Linked DNA regions of Homo sapiens: all the other regions are linked to region 1. The links are contacts of gene promoters, found by promoter capture Hi-C in human tissues and cell types (Jung and others, 2019). All regions are on one chromosome and are shown on one strand. The core of a region is centred on a gene start or on the middle of the fragment in contact, and the rest is flanking DNA. Distances in the headings are between cores, read along the strand shown.

Region 1 (4,451 bases), core at 1,222-3,721:
AGGACGGATGGGGTGAGGCCACTTCAGGCTTTGTGCCCTGCCTCACCCCCAGTGTGCCCAATCAGGCCCACCTCCAGGTGCTGTTTGGCTCCCTGCAGCTCACATTCGTACTTATTCCTGATCACATCCAGACAGAAGCCCTTGTAGATCCCTGCAGAGAAAGGGAGGAGGGTCCCTGCTTGGCTGGGGAGCCCGGTGCCCACATAGGAGGGCTGAGAGCAAAGGGCAAGGCCGGGCAGGAACGAGAGAGGAAGGGGACAGGGTGCCACGGGTTCTGGGAGGGGAAGAGGGTACAGAACCACCCACAGACCTGCCACCTGAATGCGAATCTTGAGGCTCCGCTGCAGCCCCCCAAGGGGCTCCGTGTATTCAGGGGCTCTCTCAGCCCCCACTTCCTCCAGCCGCAACCGCAGCTGACTCAGTCGTTCCCTGAACAACCTGCGTGGTAAAAAGGCAGCCGTGCACCCATTTGCTCACCCATCGCTCTTGGGCAAACACATACCCAGCACCCATTCCACAGCAAGCCCGGTGTTAGGCGCGCACTTCCTGGGCACCAACCACGCCTGCCCAGTACCAGGCCCACCACCTCCTCATCCCAGATCCTCGCAGACCCAGCCCAAGGTGTCCCCACGCTCACTTCTCCTTTAGCTCCGAGAACTGCTTCTCTAGGTCCAGCATCTCACTGACACACTCGCTGCGGCGTCGCTCATAGTCCTCATCATCCATCTCTGGGACAAGAGGCCAGTAAGGGCTAGCTCTGGGGAGGAGTGGTGGGTACCCGCATGTGTGCATGTGCGTCCTGCATGTGTGTGTGTGCATGCATGCCTGTGTGTAGGGCCTGTGTGTGTGTGCGCGTACATGCTTGTGTGAAGGGGCTGTGTGTGTGCGTGTGTGCTTGTGTGTAGGGGCTGTGTGTGCATATGCGTGCGTGCTTGTGTGAAGGGGCTGTGTGCACGTGTACTTGTGTGAAGGGGCTGTGTGTGTGCATACGTGCTTGTGTGTAGGGGCTGTGTGTGCGTGCTTGTGTGTAGGGGCTGTGTGTGCGTGTGTGCGCTTGTGTGCAGGGTCTGTGTATGTGCTTGTGTGTAGGCGCTGTATGTGCATGTGCGTGCATGCTTGTGTGTAGGGGCTGTGTGTGTGCATGTGTGTGTGTAGGGGCTCTGTGTGTGTGTGTGTGTGTCTGTGTGTGTAGGGGCTCACCGGAGCTCTCCTCTTCTGACTCTGTCTGGCTGCCGCTCCGCTCCTCCTCACTCTCTTCCTCCTCCCCATTCATCTCAGCAGCAGAATCACCCTCTGCTTCCATCTCTTCTGTGTCTTTGCTTGGAGGCTGGACAGGCATCTGGACTCTGGGAGAAGGAATGGAGCTATCACTTATGGCTGCCCACAGCTCAGAGGGGGAAAGAGGCAGCAGGATGCTGAACACAACTCGATCCCAGATGGGGAAAGCCAGGGAAGTAACTGGCCTGGCCACACCTTGAGCACAAACTGGGTGACAAGGGTGCAAATGGCCATCTGCACCTCTCACAGAAGGCTGGGAGCTGTGGAACTGCTCCTGCTCTTGGATGTCACTGGTGATCCTAATCCTAGCAATACTGGCCAAGGCTGTGATCCACAGAAAGGAAAGGCCCAGGGGGCACTCTCCACTGCCTTTGCAACTGGACCTAAATTTCTTTTCTTCTTATTATTTTTTGAGACAGAGTCTCGCTCTGTTGACAAGCTGGAGTGCAGTGGCACGATCTCAGCTCACTGCAACCTCCTCCTCCTGGGTTCAAGCGATTCTCCTGCCTCAGCCTCCTGAGTAGTGAGATTACAGGCGCCCGCACCACACCCAAACTGGACCTAAATTTCTAACTGGGGCTTTCAAGGTCTTTCCCAGACTGGACTTGACCTACCGGTCCAGCTCCTTCATCCCAACATATAATGGCTAGTGCTTGCACTTCCACTATCCACCCTCTGCCTCAGCTGTTCCTTCTGCCTATAATGTCCTCGGCTTCTCTTCCAGATAATGTTACAATCTCCTTGTCTTTCATTGTGCTCTGGGTCAAATCCCATCTCCTTCTGCTTCCTCTTGGACCGCAGGTCATCAGTGCTCCCCTCTCTTTTCTGTGTCTTCAGCTTCTAACTCTTAGCAACCTCCTTCCCATGAAACTTTGGATGTGCTTGGGTACTTCCTAGCATTAACAAAACACAGAAACACAAAACCTCACCCATTCCACCTAACTGCTCCATTTGCCACTTCACAGTTACACTTTTCAAGGTCTCATGAACACTGGCTGTTCCTACTTTCACCTCCCACTTGTTCGATGTCCTCAATCTCAGCTGAAACTGATCCCGTAGCATTAACCAATGACTTCCTTGTGGCTAATGCCAATATTTTTCAGTGCTTATTTTAATTGTCTGCTCGGCAACATCCAACACTGGTAAGCATTCCTTCTTTTACTGACTCATCTAACATGTATTGAACATCTAACATATGCTAGGTACCGTCAGACGCTATGGTATGCAGGCGCCCAAGTGTGAATGTCTTTGACCTCACGGAGTTTACAAGTTCCTGGGAGACAGGGGCAAAGGAGCACACTATAACCATGATAGGAGGAGAGTTAAGACCAGGGGCATAAGGGAGGGGTATATAACCAGGACCTGGAGCCCGATGCAGCAGGGAGGCTTCCAGACAAAGATGGACCAGCTGGGTGAGCTGCACTTATTGAGGGAACATTCCAGGTAGAGTCAGTAGCAAAGACCCAGAAATAAGAGAAGGAAAGCAGCTGGGGGAACATGGGTCTAAGTCTCAGTGAGAAATCTGAGCTGCAGGGATTTGGTCGTCAGCATACAGCAAGTTCTTCATGCCACAGGAGAAGGTGCAACCAGCAAGGCACAATGTGTGCGATCAGAAGACGCCCAGGGTCACCAAAGGGGCAGATGAGGAGACCCCTACAAAGGAGGAGGCAAAACCCGAAGTGGTGGAGAAAGAGTTTTAGAAGAAAGCCAAGTACTGCCAAGGAGTAATTGCACTGATAGTGCCAAGTACTGCCAAGAGATCACCTAAGAAGAAGAAAACAGTCCTCTCAGCAGATAATCTCTCAACCTCCTGCAGGCTTCTATTTTATTGTGTTCTTCCAACTTCTCTGGACACTGCTTTGTAGTCCTTTAGAACAGTGCAGACACCACTCCCTCCAGGAAGCTTTGTTTATATCTATTTGCCTGTTCTCATATCTGTCCCCGCAATCAGTCTATGAGCCTCACTAGGGCAGGGGCTGCACATGTAACTTATTTACCTAGCACAGTGCTGGTTCACTTGATGACTGGAGGATTTGCAAATACAAATTTAACAAAAAAATTTTTTGTGAGACAGACATTAGTTTTTACTTTTCGGTAGTCCCAGGTCCCTGTAATGGTAGCAAGCTTTCCTTGACACCAGTTCAAGTTGTGTATAGTAAGCCTGGCCTAGGTGAGTGTTTAGTCATATTCCTCAACAATTTCACTAATGACCTGCACCTGACTTGAAAGGCTCGGTTCTCTAAACCAGCTTCATCTTCCCGTTATCAAGCCTCAGTTCCCAACATTTGCAATGCCTCTTCACTGTTAGTATATTCACTTTGTAAGATGCAGCTTAAGTCTATCTCTTCCAGAAGCCTTTCTTTCCTCCCCCTGGTTCTGATTATGAGTGAGTTAAGTCACAACCTTCCCACCTTACCCCGGGTGCAAAAAGCGGATAACCATTCCTGCTCTGAGTGTTGAGGAGCTCACAGGTGGTAAGGGATGGAAAAGCACACTGTAAAGCGCTGTACACAGGCAATTTATCTTTTCAGAATGGCAGCTCCTCCGGGGCAGGCCCCTAGGGAAGGCAGACCCTCCCCACTCTCGCAGAGGTCAATCCAGCTTCTCCGCAGCGCCCAGGGGGCCTCCCGCTCCCTTCTAGATGCGCCGGAGCGGGCCGGAATATCACTGGCTCGCCCGCAGCCCAGCACGCGTCAGGCCGGTTAAATCTCTGCTTCGGCCTCGGAGGAGGAGGTTGTGCCGGCCCTGCTCGACTAACCGGAGAGGGCGAACCAAAAGCCATGCATGACGATACGCACCGCGGGGACTGGAGCCTCTGGCCTCACGACGGAGATTCCCTGAGAGCTGCCCGTGGTTGCCGGTACCGGCTGCTGCCGCCGGACTCCCGTAGGCGCTGCGCGGCTCCCTTTTCTTCGGGAGGCAGAGCCTATCGGTGCTTCCGTGTGCGTCATCAGGAGGCGACCGTCGGGGATGCTCACAGTTGGACAGTTTGGTCCCGAGGCATGCTGGGATACCGCGGGCCGGTCTCCATAGTAACTGGCCGACATTCGCGCAGGCCTTCGGCCTGCAGGGAAGGCCCTGATGGTTCAGTGCTTTGCAGACGGTGCCCTTCGTCCGCGGCCATCTCCCCACGGCGTGCAAGGGGAGAAGCCGGCCCCGATCCCCCCACCCCC
Region 2 (4,451 bases), core at 676-3,175, 1.3 Mb before region 1:
AACTCCTGAACTCAGGCAATCCGCCTGCCTTGGCCCCGCAAAGTGCTAGGATTACAAGCGTGAGCCACCACGCCCATGCCCAGCCTTTTTTTTTTTTTTTTTTTTTTTAAATCAGAGTCTCGATGTCTCCCAGGCTGGAGAGTGCAGTGGTGCAATCTCAGCTCACTACCATCTCTGCCTCCCAGGTTCAAGCAGTTCATCTGCCTGAGCCTCCCCAGTAGCTGGGATTACAGGCATGCACCACCATGTGTGGCTAATTTTGTATTTTGAGTAGAGATGGAGTTTCACCATGTTGGCCAGGCTGGCCTTGATCTCCTGACCTCAGGTGATCTGCCCACTTCGGCCTCCCAAAGTGCTGGGATTATAGGCGTGAGCCACAGCGCCCGGCCCCTAGTCAGAATTTTTGATGGAAAAGAAATGGCAGGGAGAGGGCCAACAGGAGGGACTTAAGTTGAATATTCAAAACTATTTCACAGGAGGACTTAGACTTCTGGAATACCAAACCTGAAAATTGTACTCAACCCCTTTATTTCCTACAGCTCAGAGAGGGTCAGGGAGGCATCCGAGGCCACACAGCCCATTGGTGGGACAACCCGAAAACACCTTGCCTTTCCTGCCCCACCCTGGGGCTTGGTTCCCCACTCAACACTGCCTCTTCTCCTTCCCCTTCCCCTCACTTCCTCCAGTCCACTGCCCAGCCCCTTCCTCACCGAGGCCTCCTGCACTGGGGGACTGCCACTCACCTTGGCCCCACGCCCTACACCCCCATATCGAGTCAGGGCAATGGTGCCTTCAAGTTTGATGCCCTGAGTCTGTAGCTCCTTAAAGTCTTCTTCCGCGCCCCGGTTGGCATAGACGAGGAGGCCCTAGTCCCAAGAGGGGGTGATCCTTAGAGCTGGGCCCAGCGAAGTGTGGGTGGGGAAGGGGGGTGGAAGTTTGCATGGCAGGAGGGAGAATTTAGATTCTGTTCCCCCACCTCACCCAGAGCTTGTAAGCTCCCCAAGAACAGTCACCCCTCATTTCCTCCATGTCTGGGTGCCCTGTAACAGACCTGGCCTTGAGCAGAGCCACTAGTGTTTGTTGAATGACTGATGGAGGAAAGGAGCAGCGATGGAGTGTCCCGGTGAGTAAATTCCGGAGGGCGCGCTGTGCCCCAGTTGAGGCACGTTCCCTGGGTCAGGGTGGGGAGAACCCTGGGTGGAACCAAGGGAGCTGGGCCAGAGCAGTAGGGGGGGTTCTGGGCCCACCTGTGGGGTTCCAGAAGGAGCATAGGCAGCATAGGGTTGTACCACATCTGGCCCCCCTTGCTCCCCGGTCACGTTCTCCTCAGTCCGGTGGCAGGAGTGGATGATGCCCCCAGTGGGGCCCACTGTTGGAGGGGTGGCAGTATCATGGCTGGGCCCAGCAGCTCCCCACCCCCGGGCATTCCCAAGACTGGGCAGGACCTCACCGATGTCCACGACGTTGGGCTGCTCCTGGCTAGGGAAGGACAGCAGCACTTCGTACGTGGAGGCCTCGGCCGAGTCCAGGCCTGACTCTGGGTCCTTCCAGCGCTGCAGCAGCAGCTGCACCAGGTCCTCATCCCGAGGGCTGGAGGCCAGGTGTGGCTCCCTGGAGAGTTCTCTGCAGGGTGGGCAGAGGGAGGGGCAGGGCCAGCATCAGGGAGGGGGCCTCTGGCAAACGGAGGAGCAGATGGCCCCACTTCTCACCTGAGGTTCTCCCGGATCCTGTGGGCATCCAGCTGCCCCATGACGGTCTCCAGGATCTCCAGGTCCAGGTCCTGGGGGGCCAGTGAGTTGGCTTTTTTGGGGATGGCAAAGTGGCCGAGGATGATCCCCAGCCCCAAGAGGGCAGCAGCCCCCAGCCCCAGCCCCAACACCTTCGTCCACTGCATCCTGCGGACTCTTGGCCAGCTGGGGTAGGACTGGTCTATAGGTTATTCCCTATAGAGGGGGTGTTGTGCCTGGTTAAACATTACCCCATGGGTGGCACTGCCCTTTGACCCCCAGCTGGCAGGGAGAGTGAGGGAACATCCCGCAGTGAGAGCCAGGAGCCATCCACATCCACCACATCCTGCACCATTTGCCTGGAATGGCTCTCCAAGGGCAGCAAGGTCACCCAGGGACACTGAAGCCGAGAGGGAAGGGGCTCATCCAGGGTGTCCCAGGAAAACAGAGGCCAAGCCAGGGCTGGAACTCAGAGCTCCTGTGTTCACAGCAGGGCCGTGCCCACTGCCCACCCTCACTGCCTCTGCCTCCCTCCAAGGCAGCCGATCTACAGCATACCCAGCCCTACCTGCCTGAGCAGATTTTGAGTTGAGATCCCCCTTCTTGCTGGACGTAAGCTGTGTGACCTTGGGCAATCCACTCAGCTTCTCTACACCTGTTTTCTTTTTTTTTTTTCTAGACTGTGTCTTCCACTGACACCCAGGCTGGAGTCCAGTGGTGTGATCTCGGCTCACTGCAACCTCCACCTCCCGGGCTCAAGTGATTCTCCTGCATCGGCCTCCCGAGTAGCTGGGATTACGGGTGTGCACCACCATGTCCAGCTAATTTTTGTATTTTTAGTAGAGATGGGGTTTCACCATGTTGGCCAGGCTGGTCTCAAACTCCTGATCTCAGGTGATCACCCGCCTCAGCCTCCCAAAGTGCTGGGATGACAGGAGTGAGCCACCGTGCCGGCTATGGTGTCATTTTCATTAAACAATATGGCATCTGTAGAAATAGCTAGTGCAGTGTCTGACATGTAGTGGGAGCTCATCAATTTTAACTACTCATCCCTCATCTGACTCTGGAAAATGTAAGGCCTAGAGCTAAAGGAAGAAGGAGGACCCAGAAGAACTCTCTGTGTCTATCCTGAAGGGAGCCCAGCGATACGAGGAATGGGAGTCCTGGGAAGGGAGGCTGTCCCAGAGGAGGCAGCAGGGGAAGCCCATGCCTCCCTGGCGAGGTGACTTCCTCTTCTATCCCCTGGCTCTGCCTGGACTCCGTCATCCACCCTCCTATTTATCCATCCACCCATCCCTCCATTCACTTATTCATTCCTTCCTTTATACATGCAAGCACTGTTCATTCTGTGCTATACTAGAGCCATGCAAGGCTGTGGGGAAGCAAAATCCAGCAGGCGAGGCAGACAGGCTTTAGGTTCAGCCATGTGGTAAGTGCCCTGTAGAGGGAGGATCACCATGCTCCCAGTGAAAGAGTGAGGAGTTCTGACTAGGAGGGAACATCTGAGGGGGTCCTCCAAGGCTGAAAAGGTGTTCCAGCATTTGCAAGGGCTGAGAGGGAAGTGAGACCCCAAGTATGCCATACACATACTGAGCCTCTTCCAGACCTCACGGAGAGCCAGGAGGGGCTGGGGGGGTCCCTAGGGACTTGAGCTGGGACTTCTCCCACCCTCCCATGGCCTATCCTGCCTTGACTCTGCCTCGCAGGTTGCAGCCCATGGATGGGCTCAAAGATGCCTGCAGAGCTTGGGGGCTGGATCAGGGCAGAGCGTGTGTGTGTGTGTGTGTGTGTGTGCACGTGCATGTGTGTGTGTGTGATTTCACAGACCCCTCTCAGAGCAGCCTCCTTCCTGCTCACAACCCCATTTTGCTGGCACCACCATCTCTTGTGCTGCTGGTGAGGAGGTTCAGCATGGGAGGACTAGGGGTGGCTGGGAAGGGATGTCATGTGATCAGTGACTTCAGGGAGGTGCACCAGGAAGCCACAGTTCTTGGCAACGTGATTATCGACGCCCAGAATATGACCTTGGATCTTATCAGAAGCCCATCGGTGCAGGGAGCATACACCTTCCTTATGAGGACACAGGACAGTCACCACCAGGTGGGGAGTGGGATGCCAAGGTCAGCTGATAAGTTGAGGGACTGAGGCAGCAACCCCATGGTCCTACCCCACCCACTCCTGGAAGGATTTAACCCCTCAATCATGTGAAGTCACAAACAGGACGCCTGGACAAAAGTGTGTGACATCTGAGTGATAACACCTGGGACTGTGGTTTGTGTTGGAGAGTGTGTAAACAGCTGTGTGTGTGACACCCAAGAGATCCACTCAGGCTGTTGGAATCCACTGGTGTCTACATGGCTGTAGGCACCAGACGTTAACTTAGTCAATTTTCTTTCCTTCATCTTTGCTGTGTGGGTGGTATGGCCCCTCCCAGAACATTCTGGATTGTGGGAGTTCCTAGAAATAACTTACGGTAGTTAGAGCACATGAACACCTTTCATTTTCCTGCCTTATTCTCCCAATGGCTCTGGGTCCAAGGGGTCTTCAATCCTCCAGGACCAGCAATGCACTGCTGCTGGCTCCCTCCCCACTCTCCACCTGCCCCACACACTTGCCTCCGTCCCACCCTCCTTCACCTCCCACGTGTACTCACCTTGCCCAGTTTGAGGCCCTGGAAGCCCTCTTAACCCCCAATCCTCTCTGCTTTGGTCACATCCACTGGGA
Region 3 (4,451 bases), core at 1,316-3,815, 1.2 Mb after region 1:
TGTGATGACTGCGTTAACTGCACAAATTGTTTGTAGAGGACAATTGTTGTGTGTTTGAGCAATGTGAAATCTGGGCATCTTAAGAACAGGATAACAGCAATTTTCAGGGAACAAGGGAGATAACCTTAAAGTCTGGCTGCCTGTGGGCTGGGCAGGACAGAGCCATACTTCTCTTATTACCGCAAACAGGTAAGAGAAATATCGCTGAATTCTTTCCCCAGTAAGGAATATTAATAATTAACAGCCCTGAGAAAAGAATGCATTCCCAGGGCCGGGCCACTGAAATGGCCTCCCTGAGAGTGCCTGCCTTTATTCAGAAGTAGAAAGGGATGAAACACGCCCTAGTCTCCTGCAGCACCCCCAGACTTGATAGGATTAGGAAATTCCAGCCTGGCAAATTCTAGTCAGACCGGTTCTCTGCTCTTGAACCCTGACAGTGCGTGCACAGTGGGACCTGGAAGTTCATTAGTGATTCTAGTTTCGCCGTGACCTTCTGCCCTGTGATCTTTTGTCGCCCTTGAAGTATGTGATCTCTGTGACCCACACCCTGTTCGTGCACTCCCTCCTCTTTGAAAATTGCTAATAAAAACTCGCTGGTTTTACGGCTCAGGGGGCATCACGGAACCTGCGGACATGTGATGTCTCCCCTGGACACCCGGCTTTAAAATGTCTCTCTTTTGTACTCTTTCCCTTTATTTCTCAGGCCAGCCGACACTTAGGGAAAATAGGAAAGGACCCACGTGAAATATTGGGGGCTGAATTTCCCCCGATAATAAGTCTCTTAAAAAAGACTTTTAAATGAAATTTCTTTGTTTTTTAACTTTTATTTCTGTTTTGGGGGTACATGTGAAGGTTTGTTACATAAGTAAACTCGTGTCTTCGGTGTTTGTTGTACAGAATATTTCATCACCCAGGTATTATGCCGAGTACCCAATAGTTCTCTTTTCTGCTCCTCTCCTTCCTCCCATCCTGCACCCTGGAGTCAACCACAGTGTCTGTTGTTTCCTTGTTTGTGTTATAAGTTCTCATCATTTAGCTCCCACTTACAAGTGAGAACATCCAGTATTTGGATTTCTGTTCCTGCATTAGTTTGCTAAGGATAATAGCCTCTAGCTCCATCCATGTTCCCACAAAAGACATGATCTAGTTCTTTTTAATGGCTGCATTAAATGAAGTTTTAAAGATACAACATAAACACCAACCTCTTCCCCACCACAAAAATCCCTTGCTGAATTTGATTACACTTAAATTAACGAGTTTTGTTTCATGAAAGACTCCTTGGACAAACTTGACAGTTGATGGAATAGGAGAAGCTGTCTGTCATGTCTAAAGCCAACAAGAGATCAATATCTAGAATAAATGGAGATCTGCAAATCAACAGAAAGTAGGCAGCAAAGCCAAAGAAAATAGCCTAAGGCACAGCCACTAAAAGGAACGTGATCATGTCCTTTGCAGGGACATGGGTGGAGCTGGAAGCCGTTAGCCTCAGCAAACTCACACAGGAACAGAAAACCAGCGAGACCGCATGGTCTCACTTATAAGTGGGAGCTGAACAATGAGAACACATGGTCACATGGCGGCGATCAACACACACTGGTGCCTGTTGAGCGGGGTGCTGGGGAGGGAGAGTACCAGGAAGAATAGCTAAGGGATACTGGGCTTAATACCTGGGTGATGGGATGATCTGTACAGCAAACCATCATGGCGCACACACCTATGTAACAAACCTGCACATCCTCTACATGTACCCCAGAACTTCAAATAAAAGTTGGACGGCCAGGCGTGGTGGCTCACGCCTGTAATCCCAGCACTTTGGGAAGCCGAGGCGTGCAGATCACCTAAGGTCAGGAGTTCGAGACCAGCCCGGCCAACATGGTGAAACCCCGTCTCTACTAAAAATACAAAAATCAGCCAGATGTGGCACGCACCTATAATTCCACCTACTCGGGAGGCTGAAGCAGAATTGCTTGAACCCGAGAGGCGGAGGTTGCAGTGAGCCGCCGAGATCGCGCCACTGCACTCCAGCCTGGGCCACAGCGTGAGACTACGTCATAAAATAAAATAAAATAACACAAAATAAAATAAAATAAAATAAAATAAAATAAAATAAAATAAAATAAAATAAAATAAAAAAATAAAATAAAATAAAATAAAATAAAGCAATTTCCTTTCCTCTAAGCGGCCTCCACCCCTCTCCCCTGCCCTGTGAAGCGGGTGTGCAAGCTCCGGGATCGCAGCGGTCTTAGGGAATTTCCCCCCGCGATGTCCCGGCGCGCCAGTTCGCTGCGCACACTTCGCTGCGGTCCTCTTCCTGCTGTCTGTTTACTCCCTAGGCCCCGCTGGGGACCTGGGAAAGAGGGAAAGGCTTCCCCGGCCAGCTGCGCGGCGACTCCGGGGACTCCAGGGCGCCCCTCTGCGGCCGACGCCCGGGGTGCAGCGGCCGCCGGGGCTGGGGCCGGCGGGAGTCCGCGGGACCCTCCAGAAGAGCGGCCGGCGCCGTGACTCAGCACTGGGGCGGAGCGGGGCGGGACCACCCTTATAAGGCTCGGAGGCCGCGAGGCCTTCGCTGGAGTTTCGCCGCCGCAGTCTTCGCCACCAGTGAGTACGCGCGGCCCGCGTCCCCGGGGATGGGGCTCAGAGCTCCCAGCATGGGGCCAACCCGCAGCATCAGGCCCGGGCTCCCGGCAGGGCTCCTCGCCCACCTCGAGACCCGGGACGGGGGCCTAGGGGACCCAGGACGTCCCCAGTGCCGTTAGCGGCTTTCAGGGGGCCCGGAGCGCCTCGGGGAGGGATGGGACCCCGGGGGCGGGGAGGGGGGGCAGACTGCGCTCACCGCGCCTTGGCATCCTCCCCCGGGCTCCAGCAAACTTTTCTTTGTTCGCTGCAGTGCCGCCCTACACCGTGGTCTATTTCCCAGTTCGAGGTAGGAGCATGTGTCTGGCAGGGAAGGGAGGCAGGGGCTGGGGCTGCAGCCCACAGCCCCTCGCCCACCCGGAGAGATCCGAACCCCCTTATCCCTCCGTCGTGTGGCTTTTACCCCGGGCCTCCTTCCTGTTCCCCGCCTCTCCCGCCATGCCTGCTCCCCGCCCCAGTGTTGTGTGAAATCTTCGGAGGAACCTGTTTCCCTGTTCCCTCCCTGCACTCCTGACCCCTCCCCGGGTTGCTGCGAGGCGGAGTCGGCCCGGTCCCCACATCTCGTACTTCTCCCTCCCCGCAGGCCGCTGCGCGGCCCTGCGCATGCTGCTGGCAGATCAGGGCCAGAGCTGGAAGGAGGAGGTGGTGACCGTGGAGACGTGGCAGGAGGGCTCACTCAAAGCCTCCTGCGTAAGTGACCATGCCCGGGCAAGGGGAGGGGGTGCTGGGCCTTAGGGGGCTGTGACTAGGATCGGGGGACGCCCAAGCTCAGTGCCCCTCCCTGAGCCATGCCTCCCCCAACAGCTATACGGGCAGCTCCCCAAGTTCCAGGACGGAGACCTCACCCTGTACCAGTCCAATACCATCCTGCGTCACCTGGGCCGCACCCTTGGTGAGTCTTGAACCTCCAAGTCCAGGGCAGGCATGGGCAAGCCTCTGCCCCCGGAGCCCTTTTGTTTAAATCAGCTGCCCCGCAGCCCTCTGGAGTGGAGGAAACTGAGACCCACTGAGGTTACGTAGTTTGCCCAAGGTCAAGCCTGGGTGCCTGCAATCCTTGCCCTGTGCCAGGCTGCCTCCCAGGTGTCAGGTGAGCTCTGAGCACCTGCTGTGTGGCAGTCTCTCATCCTTCCACGCACATCCTCTTCCCCTCCTCCCAGGCTGGGGCTCACAGACAGCCCCCTGGTTGGCCCATCCCCAGTGACTGTGTGTTGATCAGGCGCCCAGTCACGCGGCCTGCTCCCCTCCACCCAACCCCAGGGCTCTATGGGAAGGACCAGCAGGAGGCAGCCCTGGTGGACATGGTGAATGACGGCGTGGAGGACCTCCGCTGCAAATACATCTCCCTCATCTACACCAACTATGTGAGCATCTGCACCAGGGTTGGGCACTGGGGGCTGAACAAAGAAAGGGGCTTCTTGTGCCCTCACCCCCCTTACCCCTCAGGTGGCTTGGGCTGACCCCTTCTTGGGTCAGGGTGCAGGGGCTGGGTCAGCTCTGGGCCAGGGGCCCAGGGGCCTGGGACAAGACACAACCTGCACCCTTATTGCCTGGGACATCAACCAGCCAAGTAACGGGTCATGGGGGCGAGTGCAAGGACAGAGACCTCCAGCAACTGGTGGTTTCTGATCTCCTGGGGTGGCGAGGGCTTCCTGGAGTAGCCAGAGGTGGAGGAGGATTTGTCGCCAGTTTCTGGATGGAGGTGCTGGCACTTTTAGCTGAGGAAAATATGCAGACACAGAGCACATTTGGGGACCTGGGACCAGTTCAGCAGAGGCAGCGTGTGTGCGCGTGCGTGTGCATGTGTGTGCGTGTGTGTG

The links. Contacts are between HindIII fragments. The study calls those that stand out against the background at their distance.
Region 2: a contact is called between the fragment with the promoter of NAALADL1 here and a fragment that was not itself captured in region 1, in 1 of the 25 tissues and cell types used here (ovary).
Region 3: the fragment with the promoter of GSTP1 here is called in contact with a fragment that was not itself captured in region 1 in 1 of the 25 tissues and cell types used here (psoas muscle).

The regions. Positions count from the first base shown.
Region 1 is chr11:66,340,896-66,345,346 of GRCh38, forward strand. BRMS1 (BRMS1 transcriptional repressor and anoikis regulator) reads right to left here and starts at 4,209. Exons shown (of 10, transcript NM_015399.4): 1 at 4,077-4,209; 2 at 1,201-1,346; 3 at 638-728; 4 at 311-438; 5 at 72-151. The coding sequence starts at 1,339. RefSeq lists enhancers at 3,949-4,451, 3,955-4,384. The HindIII fragment of the contact is 3,306 bases long and covers 819-4,124 here.
Region 2 is chr11:65,056,628-65,061,078 of GRCh38, forward strand. NAALADL1 (N-acetylated alpha-linked acidic dipeptidase like 1) reads right to left here and starts at 1,926. Exons shown (of 18, transcript NM_005468.3): 1 at 1,710-1,926; 2 at 1,451-1,623; 3 at 1,248-1,369; 4 at 744-866. The coding sequence starts at 1,894. The HindIII fragment of the contact is 22,908 bases long and covers 1-4,451 here.
Region 3 is chr11:67,581,247-67,585,697 of GRCh38, forward strand. GSTP1 (glutathione S-transferase pi 1) reads left to right here and starts at 2,566. Exons shown (of 7, transcript NM_000852.4): 1 at 2,566-2,598; 2 at 2,888-2,923; 3 at 3,218-3,324; 4 at 3,439-3,526; 5 at 3,892-3,995. The coding sequence starts at 2,598. RefSeq lists silencers at 2,166-2,785, 2,336-2,478, 2,796-2,945. The HindIII fragment of the contact is 9,062 bases long and covers 1-4,451 here.